Regions from separate parts of the Homo sapiens genome. Here all the other regions are linked to region 2. Evidence: promoter capture Hi-C in 16 types of primary human blood cells and fetal thymus (Javierre and others, 2016). All regions are on one chromosome and are shown on one strand. The core of a region is centred on a gene start or on the middle of the fragment in contact, and the rest is flanking DNA. Distances in the headings are between cores, read along the strand shown. Region 1 overlaps ASPG (asparaginase). Region 2 holds the start of LINC02280 (long intergenic non-protein coding RNA 2280). Region 3 holds the start of BTBD6 (BTB domain containing 6). Region 4 holds the start of TDRD9 (tudor domain containing 9).

Region 1 (2,700 bases), core at 77-2,576, 580 kb after region 2:
CAAAGACAAGACTAAACTCTCTTGGTGTCCTCTTCTCTCAAGCAAAACACTCCATATGTGCTTTTGCAGTGGTTTTTATGGCTCACACCTGTAATCCCAGAATTTTGGGAGGCTGATGCAGGAAGATCATTTGAGCCCAGGAGTTCAAAACCAGCCTGGCCAATTTCTTTCTTTTTTCTTTTTCTTCTCCTTTCTTCCTTTTTTTTTTTTTTTTTTTTTTTTTTTGAGGCAGAGTCTCACTCTGTTGCCCAGGCTGGAGTACAGTGATGCCATCTCGACTCACTGCAACCTCCACCCACCCGGCTCAAGCAATTCTCCTGCCTTAGCCTCCCGAGTAGCCGGGATTACAGGCATGCACCACCACACCTAGCTAATTTTTTATTTTTAGTAGAGACGGGGTTTCGCCATGTTAGCAAGGCAAGTGAACCACCCGCCTTGGCCTCCCAAAGTGTTGGAATTACAGGCCTGAGCCACCATGTCTGGCCAAACGTTCCTTTTTCAAACCTATACTGTCGCCAGTAAAGTTTTCTTACCAACCTGCGAGTGGACCACTTTCCAACTCTGGGGCTCCAGCACTCACCCCGCAGTCAATGTGTTGTACGTCAGCAGCCATTCTAACAGGTATGTAGTGGCATCAGTTTTTTTTGTTTGTTTGAGACAGGGTCTCACTCTGTCACTCAGGCTGGAGTGCAGTGGCGAGATCTCGGCTCACTGCAACCTCCACCTCCTGGGTTCAAGCGATTCTCATGCCTCAGCCTCCCCAGTAGCTGGGACCACAGGCATCTGCCACCACATCTGGCTAATTTTTTTTTTGTATTTTTAGTAGAGACAGGGTTTCACCATGTTGTCCATGGCTGGTCTTGAACTCCCGATCTCAAGTGATCCACCCACCTCAGCCTCCCAAAGTGCTGGGATTACAGGTGTGAGCCACCGCGCCCAGTCAGCTGGGGCAATTTCTTTTGTTATTTTAAATAAACACCAGCTTTCAGCCGGGCACGGTGGCGGGCGCCTGTAGTCCCAGCTACTCGGGAGGCTGAGGCAGGAGAATGGTGTGAACCCGGGAGGCAGAGCTTGCAGTGAGCTGAGATCGCGCCACTGCACTCCAGTCTGGGCGACAGAGTGAGACTCCATCTCAAAAAAATAAAAATAAATAAAAAATAAACAAACACCGGCTTTCACACCTAACTATGATTTTGTAACTTGTATTACTTTTCTCAATGAGGGCCCTCCAAAAGCTTCAAGGGCTGCAGAATCTGAACCCTCCAGCCCTGCCTGGAACCTCTTCCTTGGCCCATCCAGGCAGGTGCCTGAGTTTGCTGGTGACTTGGAAACTCCTCAGCCCCCTGCCAAACACCTGGAAAGGAGGCTTTGCTCTCTAAGACAATGGGCCCCACTGTCACCAGCGAAGTCAAGCTTAGGCTTAGAAACTTGTGAACGTGTAGCACCCATTCAGGAAGGAGGTCCAGGCCAAGGGCACAGACGCCACTGCAGTAACCAAGAAGCCATGGGCATCACTCCACTGACACTCTCGACTGCTGGGACCCGTGTGGTCACCGGGCAGGGAGCTTCTCTCAGCTGCCTGGCCCCAGATCTCTGCCCTCCCTGCTGTGCCTGCAAGGAGCCGGGCTCAGGAGGGACTTTGGGACAGGCCGGCAAGCAGGTGGGGTTCCCAGTTTGACATAGGAAGTCTTCAAGTTTCTCGGGTGTACAGAACGTGGCCACTGATGCCAGCTTGGGCTTGGGGTTATCAGCCGTGTTTGGATTCGCTATGCCCCTTGACCTGTGATAGCTTCAATGAACTCAGAGAAGGGATGGGTCAAGGGGCGTCCCCACTGGCATCACCTCTGCCCTCCCTGAACTCTGGCAGGGCTCCAGGTGTGCAGCGTTCCACCCACAGGTCACTGTTTACCAGCAGGCGCAGAAGCCGTTCCAACAGCGACAATCAAACAGCTTTACTAGGGCAAAGCCACCACTCCCCTCTCACCTCCCCAGGGAAGGCCAGAGCCCACGTCAGCAGTGTGGAGGGAGTAAATCATTGACGCCTGACAGTCTGGCTGCTCCAACCTCACGAGGGGTTGGGGGAGCCCATTCCTGCAGGTTCCTGGAAGTGGATGCCCCACATGGGTCAGCTAGCAACAGCTGGGGGTGACCTCGCAGCCACACGAGGACGGGCTGCTGAGCAGAAGCCAGGACCCCAGTGCACAGAGCACCAAGGGATCTCAGAAGGCTGCTTCAGGTCTGAAGACTGACGCCCCACACCCAATTTCCAGCCTCCAAGTCTCTTGTTTCCCACCCAGACACAGGACCTCACAGCCTCTTTCAGAAATGCGGTGCACGCGTGTGAGTGCACCCACAGGCTGCTGCGGCGAGCACGCGGGGGCCAAGCGAGACGGGTGTGTGGTGGGGTTACAGAGTCCACCTGCCCCTGCAGCTCGGACCACTCAAGAACTACATGTTGAGCTCAACGAAACTGCAGTTGGCCACACTCCAAGCCTGAAGGGGTAGCGTCAGGGGCGTCGGACGAGGCCCCACACAGAGTCCCCAGGTCCTGTCCCCACTCGGGGGCAGCTCTGGCAGGCTCCGGCCCTGCTGGGCTCCCCACTCCTCTTTCCTGCACCTTGCAGGGCTGCTCCTGGCCTGGCCCTCTCCCATCTTTGTCCTGCAGGCCTTGTGTCCTCAGAGAAGCCCTCCCTGGGCTGC
Region 2 (2,700 bases), core at 158-2,657:
AGGCTGGAATGCAGTGGTACAATCTTGACTCACTGCAACCTCCACCTCCCGGGTTCAAGCGATTCTCCTGCCTCAACCTCCTGAGTAGCTGGGACTACAGGTGCCTGCCACCACACCCGGCTAATTTTTGTATTTTTAGTAGAGACGGGTTTCACCATTTTGGCCAGGCTGGTCTCGAACTCCTGACCTCAAATGATCCACCCACCTTGGCCTCCCAAAGTGCTGGGATTACAGGCATGAGTCACCGCGCCTGGCCTGAGATACAGTTTACCCAGAGTAAAATGCATAGAACTAAAGTGTATGAGTTTTGACAAATAAAGAGGTCCGTGGAGCCCTCACCCAGAACAAGACTGGGGGCACTGCACCACCTCAGAGGGTCCTGGCCTTCTGTAGTCTACAGTGTATTGTGGGTAACACAAGTTAATCAGAAACGTAAATTCTCAGCTGGCAGAGAGAAGCTGTGTATAAGCCTGGGCTCTCCGATTAGATCGTTCTCACCAGGGTGCTCTGCAGCCAGGGGGTGCCGGGGAAGATGCCCTGCAGGTGCCCTCTGCCCGGCCCTGGGGGAGGAGGGAGGCCCTGCTGCAGGGGAGCTGGGAGCCACTGTGGCCGCCATGGAGGCTGCCACTCTCCCAGCTCCAGTGTCACCTCGGCGGGTGGGGGCTGGTTGTGGGGACAAAAGGCCTTTGTACTCGGGACAGCCTCAGCCCTACTGTAGGGATGGGAGGAGAGAACGGCCACATTCCGAGGTTGGGGGAGGTCACTGGACACAAGGCCTTTCTTTCTGAGCTGCTAGTGCATGTCGGCCTGGCTGGGGACCCCGCTGGGGCCTCTGTGGCCGCTGAGGGCAATTCCAACCAGCTTCATGGGCAGTGGCTGGTGGGGCTGGGGGTGACTCCTGCTCTGGGGCTAGAGAGAGGGGCTCAGTCTCGGGAAGAGGGGTAGGGGCGGTGTGTGCGACTCAGCCACCCTCTGATGCTGAGGCCTGCCACCAGCCCGGTGCCAGCCCTCGGGGACGGTGCCACGCCAGGGCCTGCGGAGTGGTGGTGGAGCTCCCTGGTGGTGGAGGGTTGCCCACATCCTTCTCCTCTTCCTTTCCCTGGTCTACACCTCCCCAAGGTGTGAAAAAGCCCAGGCCCTCTCTACAGCCTGCAGGCAGCGCCATGCCCGGGGAGGGTGCAGTTTGAGGAGGGGAGGGGCCGCCTCGGGATGTTTCCATTCAGAACTGGGACCTGTGGGCCACCAGAGAACCTAAAAGCAAACATGTCTGGCCAGCGACGGGATTAACTCTCAGACTGCAAAATCAAAACACTTCCTGTTAGTGTGAGCTCACTCAGTTATTTAGGCGAAAGCACACTGCCTTCCTGAGCTGGGAGAGTTTGTCTCTCCCCGCCCTGGGGTCCCTCCTGGATCTTCCTGCCTTGACAGCCCCACAGAAAATGCTAAGAGCCCAGGAAGGTTGTGAAGGGTGTGTGTGTGTTTGTGTGTGTGTCTGTGTGCTGTGTGTGTCTGTGTGTGTTTGTGTGTGTCTGTGTGTTTGTGTGTGTGTATGTGTGTGTCTGTGTTTGTGTGTGTTGTCTGTGTCTGTGTGTCTGTGTGTCTGTGTGTCTGTGTGTCTGTGTGTGTGTCTTGTGTCTGTGTGTTTGTGTGTGTGTCTGTGTGTTTGTGTGTCTGTGTGTTTGTGTGTGTGTTTGCATCTGTGTGTTTGTGTGTCTGTGTGTGTGTGTGTTTGTGTTTGTGTGTCTGTGTGTGTTTGTGTGTCTGTGTGTGTTTGCATCTGTGTGTGTGTGTGGGTTTGTGTGTGTCTGTGTGTTTCTGTGTGTCTGTGTGTGTGTGTCTGTGTGTGTGTGTTTGCATCTGTGTGTTTGTGTGTGTGTGGGTTTGTGTGTGTCTGTGTGTTTGTGTGTGTCTGTGTGTGTGTCTGTGTTTGTGTGTGTTTCTGTGTGTCTGTGTGTTTGTGTCGGTGTGTGTCTCTGTGTGTGTTTGTGTGTGTATGTGTATTGGGAGGACAGTGGTCCCAGCTCCTCAGGGGCATCAGGCTCTGTAGCAGGGCCCACCGTCTCGGCAGGAGGGTGCAATGGCCTCACCCACACTGTCCAGGCAGTTCTCTTGGGACCCCTTTTAGCCAGCACAGGTGCCTTCTCCCTCGGCAGGAGGGTGCGATGGTCTCACCCACACGGTCCAGGCGGGTCTCTTGGGTCTCCTTTTCCAGCACAGGTGCCTTCTCCCTAGGTAAGACATTATCCATCATGGTGGTGTTTCAGATGGCAGCGCAGGGAGTGGAGATTTTGGGGCCGCAGTCTTCCCCAGCCCAAGGTGCCCCAGGGCCTGCCCTGGGATGCGGGTTCCTGCCAGAAGTGCCTTTTGCTGCGTGGAATCATGGGGAATGTGGGGTCCTCCCCAGTCAACCTGGGGAGCCCTAGCAGGGAGGTGAAGATGGGTTTAGGGGATCATAAAAAGCAAAAACCAAACCAGATCCCAGTAGAAATCTCCGGGGGAGTTGGGGTCATCTCGAACCAAGGGGAGGGAGGAGAGGGGCTGCAGGTGGGGTGGGGGGTAGTGAGAGGGGAAGAGGGTGAAGCTCTGCTCACAGGAGTCGCCCGTTGCCCAGGCTTTGTGTGCTGGGCACACAGATGCCAGCAGGTGGAAGCTGAGCATGGAGGAGGTTCTCATCAGCTCACCCGCCCTCCTCCAAGCCCC
Region 3 (2,700 bases), core at 150-2,649, 580 kb before region 2:
CTCCCGAGTGACAATGATCTCCAGCGTCTGCCGGTCTATCTCACAGAAGCCTTCGGACCGTAGGGCCATCTCGGCCTGTGCGTCAATGACCTCCCAGCAGCGCTGCGTCAGCTCGGGCTCCTCAAACAGCCGGCTCTGGGACAGCAGGACGCAGGCGTTCTTGGCTTCCAAACTTGTCTCCAGAAAGTTGACACAGGCTTTTGCCAATGCTGGGACGATGTACTTCTTAGCAGCGTACAGAGTGGCCAGCACCGTGTCGGCTTCCAGATCGATCTCATCACTGTACATGTACCTAGGCGAGGCAGGGCCCGCGTCAGGGGCTGGCTCCCAAGCACCCATCGCGGGGCTGGGCCTGGGAGAGGAGTCCATCAGCTCCTGTGTGCTTCCCTTCAGAAGCCTCCGGAGGCCGCCTAAAACGGACCCACCCGTCCCTCCCCAGTAGAGTGGACTTACTTTAAGAGGATCAGAAAGGCTGCGGGCTCCACGTCTGGAATGTGAATTTCAGATTTGACTTCCGCCAGGTCTCCGTAGAACATGGCATAGAAGACGGAGCTGCCGACAGCCAAGACGTACTGGGAGGAGAAAGCGCCGCCGTGAGCCTGGCTCTCCCGCAGGCTGCGTGTCAGCCACACGGCGGACGGGGCGGACGGGGCACGCGTTCCGAGAGGGGCCGCCGCTACCCACCTTGTGGGCGGGCACCGTCCTGGTCGCCCCCGGGGGCCCCACGACGAAGTGCACGTCGGCCATGAGCTCGTTGTTGAACATGAGCGCGTTCCTGCAAAGGTAGAGGCACGGGCTGGGGGCGTGGGCGCGCGCGGGCGCGGGGGCCGCGGGGCACGGGCTCACCTCTCGCGCAGCGTGGGGCGGCAGCACCGCCAGCCGGGGCTCTCCTGGTGGTTGTTGCCGAGTGTGGGCGGCGCGGGCGCGGGCGGCGGCGGCGCTGGCGCGGGGGCGCTGGGCGGGCTGCGCGGCCCGGCCTTCCTGCCCACGGCGGCGCCGGCGTTGCTGTTGGCTAGGTCCGCGGCCGCGGCGCTGGCGGGAGCGTAGAGTTCCGCCGCCATCTTCGCGGGCGGGGCGGCGGGGGCAGCCTCGGCGCCTGTGGACGCCGCGCCCCGCGCCCTCGCGCCGCGCCGGGGCCTCGGGAGCGGCTCTGCAAGCAAAAGCAAGGAGGTCAGGCACTGAGCGACGCGGCCGTGCAGGCAGGCTAGGGGCAGCAGCATGGGCGGCGGCGGCGCTGTGACCCGCGGGGCTGCCACCCGCTCCCCTGCCACCCCCGCCCCTGCGACCCTGCCCGAGCCCAGCCTAGCGCAGCCCGGCCAGGCCCGGCCGCGGGGGGCGCCGTCCCGCCCGCCCGCCCGCCCGAGCCCGTACCCGCCGCGGCGCCGGTGCGTCACGCTGCGTCAGGGCCGCGCCCCGCGCGACGTCGCTGCCTCGCGGCCCCGCCCCCAGGCCCGACATCCTCGAAGCTGCTCGAGCTTCTGCCCAGCAACCGGCGCGAGCCGCGCGCTGTGCAGAGGTAGCCGTGGAAGGCGGCTCCCGGCGCTGGCAGGCGGCCGCCCCCAGACCCGCAGTGCCATGCGCAGGTGCTTGCGCCCGTTCTTCAGTTAGCGATCTTTTGGTTAGGAACGCAGGTGGACCTGCTTGTTTGGCCATTTGCATTCCGGAGTCTGCCTCTGGCCGCGGCCTGTGGGATGGTCGTTGGGCTTCCTCGTTCGTTCAGATGCTTCGCGATTTAGCTTGCTACGGACGCCAGCAGCCAGCGCTTGCAGAGAGCGCGGTCCACTCTGCTCTGAGGGCTTTACAGGGGCAGGCGCTGCTATTTCCCGGCATTTTCCTCGAGGAAATAGGCACAGAGAGGTTAGTCGCGCGCTGAAGGTCACACAGCCGGCGGGTGGGCAAGTCAGGATCTGGCCCTGGGCCTGCAGCCCTGGAGCTTGGGCCCCAGGGCGCGCCCTGCCTCTGTGGCTCTGCCTGTGGATCGCAGTCGCAGGCTCGCTCCTTGTGGGGCCTCTAGCCTCCCGGCCTGGGGCTAATCCTGGGAGGTGCGTGGCATGGGGCACTGGCTTTGCTGATGAGGAGACCAGACTTCAGAGGCCGTGTCACCTGGCCTGGGCCGCACAGCTGGTGCATGCCAAGCTCGCGTGCAGACGAAGCTCCAGAGGCCTGGCTGTCAGGAGGGTTCCTCCCCGAGGACACACACGCAACCTCCTGGACCGCCAGGCTTTAGACTTTTAAAACTTCCATATGCAGGAAACCCCACAGGACGCAGCCAGCATCTCGGGTCATGGGTGCACCTGTCACCGCAGTCCTGGGCTAAACAGTGAACAGGAGCTCTGTGTCTCTGTGGTCGTTACAGTTGTAGTGAATGTTCCCTGGGAGAGTCCTCTTCAGAAGATATTTGCGGTATTTTCAACAAAGGACTCTCCAGGATGGAGGAGCAACTACAAGTCAGGAAGGAAAAGGCTGACAACCCAGTTTTTTAAAAAACGGGCAAAGGACGTGAACAGACACCATGCAATGGCCCAGAGTGCACAAATCATCATTTCTCCCAGGAATGGGGTGCCCGAGCCCCCAGGCGGCTGAACTTGAGACTTGTCACGTAGTGTTGGTGGAATGCAGAGCAGCTGGAGATCACCTGCTGCAGGTGGGTGCGTAACTCCGCACGGCCAAGCCGTTTGGAAAGCTGTAGCATATGCATGA
Region 4 (2,700 bases), core at 108-2,607, 740 kb after region 2:
CGCAGTGGCTCACGCCTGTAATCCCAGCACTTTGGGAGGCTGAGGTGGGCAGATCACCTGAGGTCAGGAGTTCTAGACTAGCCTGGCCAACATGGTGAAACCCTGTCTCTATTAAAAATACAAAAATTAGCCAGGCGTGGTGGCATATGCCTGTAGCCTCAGCTACTCGGGAGGCTGAGGCAGGAGAATCGCTTGAACCTAGGAGGGGGAGATTGCAGTGAGGCGAGATGGCGCCACTCCACTCCAGCCTGGGTAACAAAGTGAGACTCCATCTCGGGGGGTGGGGGGAGAACTTGGAAGCAACCAAGCTCTCCTTCAGTAGGTGAATGGAGATAAACTGTGGTACATCCAGACAGTGGAATATTAATCAGTGCTAAAAGGAAAGAAGCTATCAAACCATGGAAAGGCATGGAGGAACCCCCAAATGCATACTAATACTAAGTGACAGAAACCCATCAAAAAGGCTACACATACTGTGTGATTCCAACTAGATGACAGTATGGAAAAGCAAAATTATGGAGACAGTAAAAAAATCAGTGGTTTCCACGTGGTGTAGGGAAAGGGAGGCAGGAACAGTGGGGCCGAGAAGATCTGTAGGTCAGTGAACTCTGTAATGCGTGACGTTAGGCGTTTGTCCAAACCCACAGAACGTCCAGTACGAGGCGTGAACCCTCCTGTAACGATGGCCTCCGGGTGACGAAGACGCAGCGATGCAGGTTCGCCGACTGTCACAAATACCCACACCTTACGCAGATGCTCACAGGGGAAACTCTGGGAGGGAAGGGGCCTATGGGACCTCTGCCCTCCGCTCCGTTATCCTGAAAACCTGAGTGCCTCAAAAACTAGTCTGTTAAACATTAAGAACTGAAAAAAAAAAAAAAAAAAAAACCTCTAGCTCAGCTTCCTTACAGGCACCGCTCTGGGCCGCGCGTCGGGTTGTGTAGTGACCACTCGCCCTGGACGGTCAGGGGTCCCTGGAGCCCCGCGAGAGGGCACGGGCTCGCGAGAAGGATCTGGATGGCCCGTGCCCTCGTCGCCAGGCCTCGCCCGGCCGCCCTCCAGCCGCCTCCGCCCCGCCCGCGTCCTACCTTTCGAACGCAGCGGCCGGCCGGGCCGGAGCTTGGGCCAGAGCCGGAGCCTGGGCCGCGGGACCAGCGCCGGGGGCCACGTCCTGGCGCTGCACCTCCTCCCTGGCCGCCCCTGCCGGGAAGGCGGGCGGCGCGCCCAGCAGCTCCACATTGGTCACCGTCTTGCCGATGGTGAACCAGTCGTTGATCTGCTCGATGGTGAGCTTCCGCAGCATCCTCAAGGCCCAGGCGTCGGCATCCCCCAACTGCCGGGTCTCCGCGGCGGGAACAGGCGACGGCGGAAGCGCACCCTGGAAGCCCCGCCCCCGCTCGAGGCCTTCCAATCAGAACGCGCCGCGCGCCCTTGTGGGCGGGCTCCGGCCCGGGCGCGTGCTGCCCGCGCTGCCTGGTCCTCGTGCCGCCGGCCCCGCCCCGCCGCGCTAGGCCTGCCGGGAGCCGCCGCCCCGAGCGAGCCCAGGGTGAGCCTTTCTAGGACCTCAGGGGAAGCTTGAGCGCCGCGGCTGGCCCGGGAGTCTGTTTCACGGGAGTTCCGTGGCAACCCCTGTGTGTACAAGAAAATGCCCTCCGGTCACTCCCTGGCCTCTCTATTTAGAGGCTGCTGCCTCGGAGGTTTGTGCGCTTTGAGCGGACCGGGACCCTACATACGTTTCTTGAGCACCTCAGGGTGAGGAGATGGAAGGCAAACCAGAGAAGGGATTTGCGTTCGTGGGTCAGACGTACCAGGACATCCTTGCACCTAATATGGGGGGAGAGGGGCAAGAAGAAGGTCAGGAAGGTCTCGGAGAAAGTAACGCCAGGCAGACCCCTGCAGGATACGGGGGAATGCGCCAGACGGAGGACCACCCAGGGTTATAGGGGAGGGCAGGCGGCCCTGATGGCTGAGGTGAGGATCTGGGAGAAGTTCTTTGCAGCCGGATCATAACTGAATTCATCTTCCTTCCTAAACCGGTGTCTCAGGCGGCGGTGTCAGACTCACAGCTGGACACAAACAGGTGCGGACAGGAGGTCCAGGCGATCACATGGACCAAAGATACAGGCTGAGGTGGTCCCGGCCGAGCTCTAGAAGAGTGAGGGTGGAGAACAGAGCCCTAGCAAACTCCCCAAAAGAAGGAGCCGCGGGAAGAAATCAACAAAGGATGCACGGGAAGGCAGCCACGTGTGCAAGGGAAGGGAGGGTCAGAAGAGAGACATGGCCACCTGCCTGGGGTGTGTCCCCCTCACTGGCCAGGGCAGGATCTATCTGGCCCATGTGGGCTCTCAGGAAAGAGCCATGTGAACAAATACAGAGACGGTATCGAGAGCATGGCTCTAATCAGCAGTGTAAAGCCCAAGCAGTGGCAAATAAGAGGGCGGTTTGAAAACACTGTAGACAGAAATCAGGCAGGTAGGTTGAGCTATTGGTGTCTCAAAAATTGAACCCATAATCATACTAAGCCAGGAGTTCTGGCTCCAAATCCTGGCATAATGAGCTCTAGACCTCATATTAGGACTCTGCCAAATACGACAGGTTCCCAAAAGTGCCTCAACACACTTTGCCAGGAAGAAATAACTTGCTTTTCTTTTTTCTTTTGAGGCAGGGTCTCACTCCTGTCGCTGAGGCTGGAGTGCCGTG

The links. Contacts are between HindIII fragments. The CHiCAGO score rates a contact against its expected background, and 5 or more counts as called.
Region 1: a fragment that was not itself captured here is called in contact with the fragment with the promoter of LINC02280 in region 2 in 4 of 17 cell types (naive B cells, M0 macrophages, M1 macrophages and 1 more); the score reaches 7.1 in naive B cells.
Region 3: the fragment with the promoter of BTBD6 here is called in contact with the fragment with the promoter of LINC02280 in region 2 in 2 of 17 cell types (neutrophils and erythroblasts); the score reaches 9.8 in neutrophils.
Region 4: the fragment with the promoter of TDRD9 here is called in contact with the fragment with the promoter of LINC02280 in region 2 in 4 of 17 cell types (M1 macrophages, naive CD8 T cells, erythroblasts and 1 more); the score reaches 7.9 in M1 macrophages.

Annotation. Positions count from the first base shown.
Region 1 is chr14:104,087,473-104,090,172 of GRCh38, reverse strand. All of the region lies in intron 1 of ASPG (asparaginase), which reads right to left. Among named protein-coding and RNA genes, the nearest start is that of ASPG, 3.1 kb to the right of the region's middle. The HindIII fragment of the contact is 178 bases long and covers 1,238-1,415 here.
Region 2 is chr14:104,664,265-104,666,964 of GRCh38, reverse strand. LINC02280 (long intergenic non-protein coding RNA 2280) reads left to right here and starts at 1,407. Exons shown (of 2, transcript NR_135293.1): 1 at 1,407-2,232. RefSeq lists an enhancer at 715-1,477. The HindIII fragment of the contact is 24,946 bases long and covers 1-2,700 here.
Region 3 is chr14:105,247,232-105,249,931 of GRCh38, reverse strand. BTBD6 (BTB domain containing 6) reads right to left here and starts at 1,399. Exons shown (of 4, transcript NM_001387567.1): 1 at 847-1,399; 2 at 685-775; 3 at 454-572; 4 at 1-292. The coding sequence starts at 1,220. All of the region lies in intron 5 of BRF1 (BRF1 general transcription factor IIIB subunit), which reads left to right. RefSeq lists enhancers at 1-191, 983-1,773 and silencers at 798-847, 1,048-1,607. The HindIII fragment of the contact is 26,340 bases long and covers 1-2,700 here.
Region 4 is chr14:103,927,113-103,929,812 of GRCh38, reverse strand. It overlaps TDRD9 (tudor domain containing 9), which reads right to left and starts at 1,357. Exons shown (of 36, transcript NM_153046.3): 1 at 1,089-1,357. The coding sequence starts at 1,303. The HindIII fragment of the contact is 2,314 bases long and covers 1-1,576 here.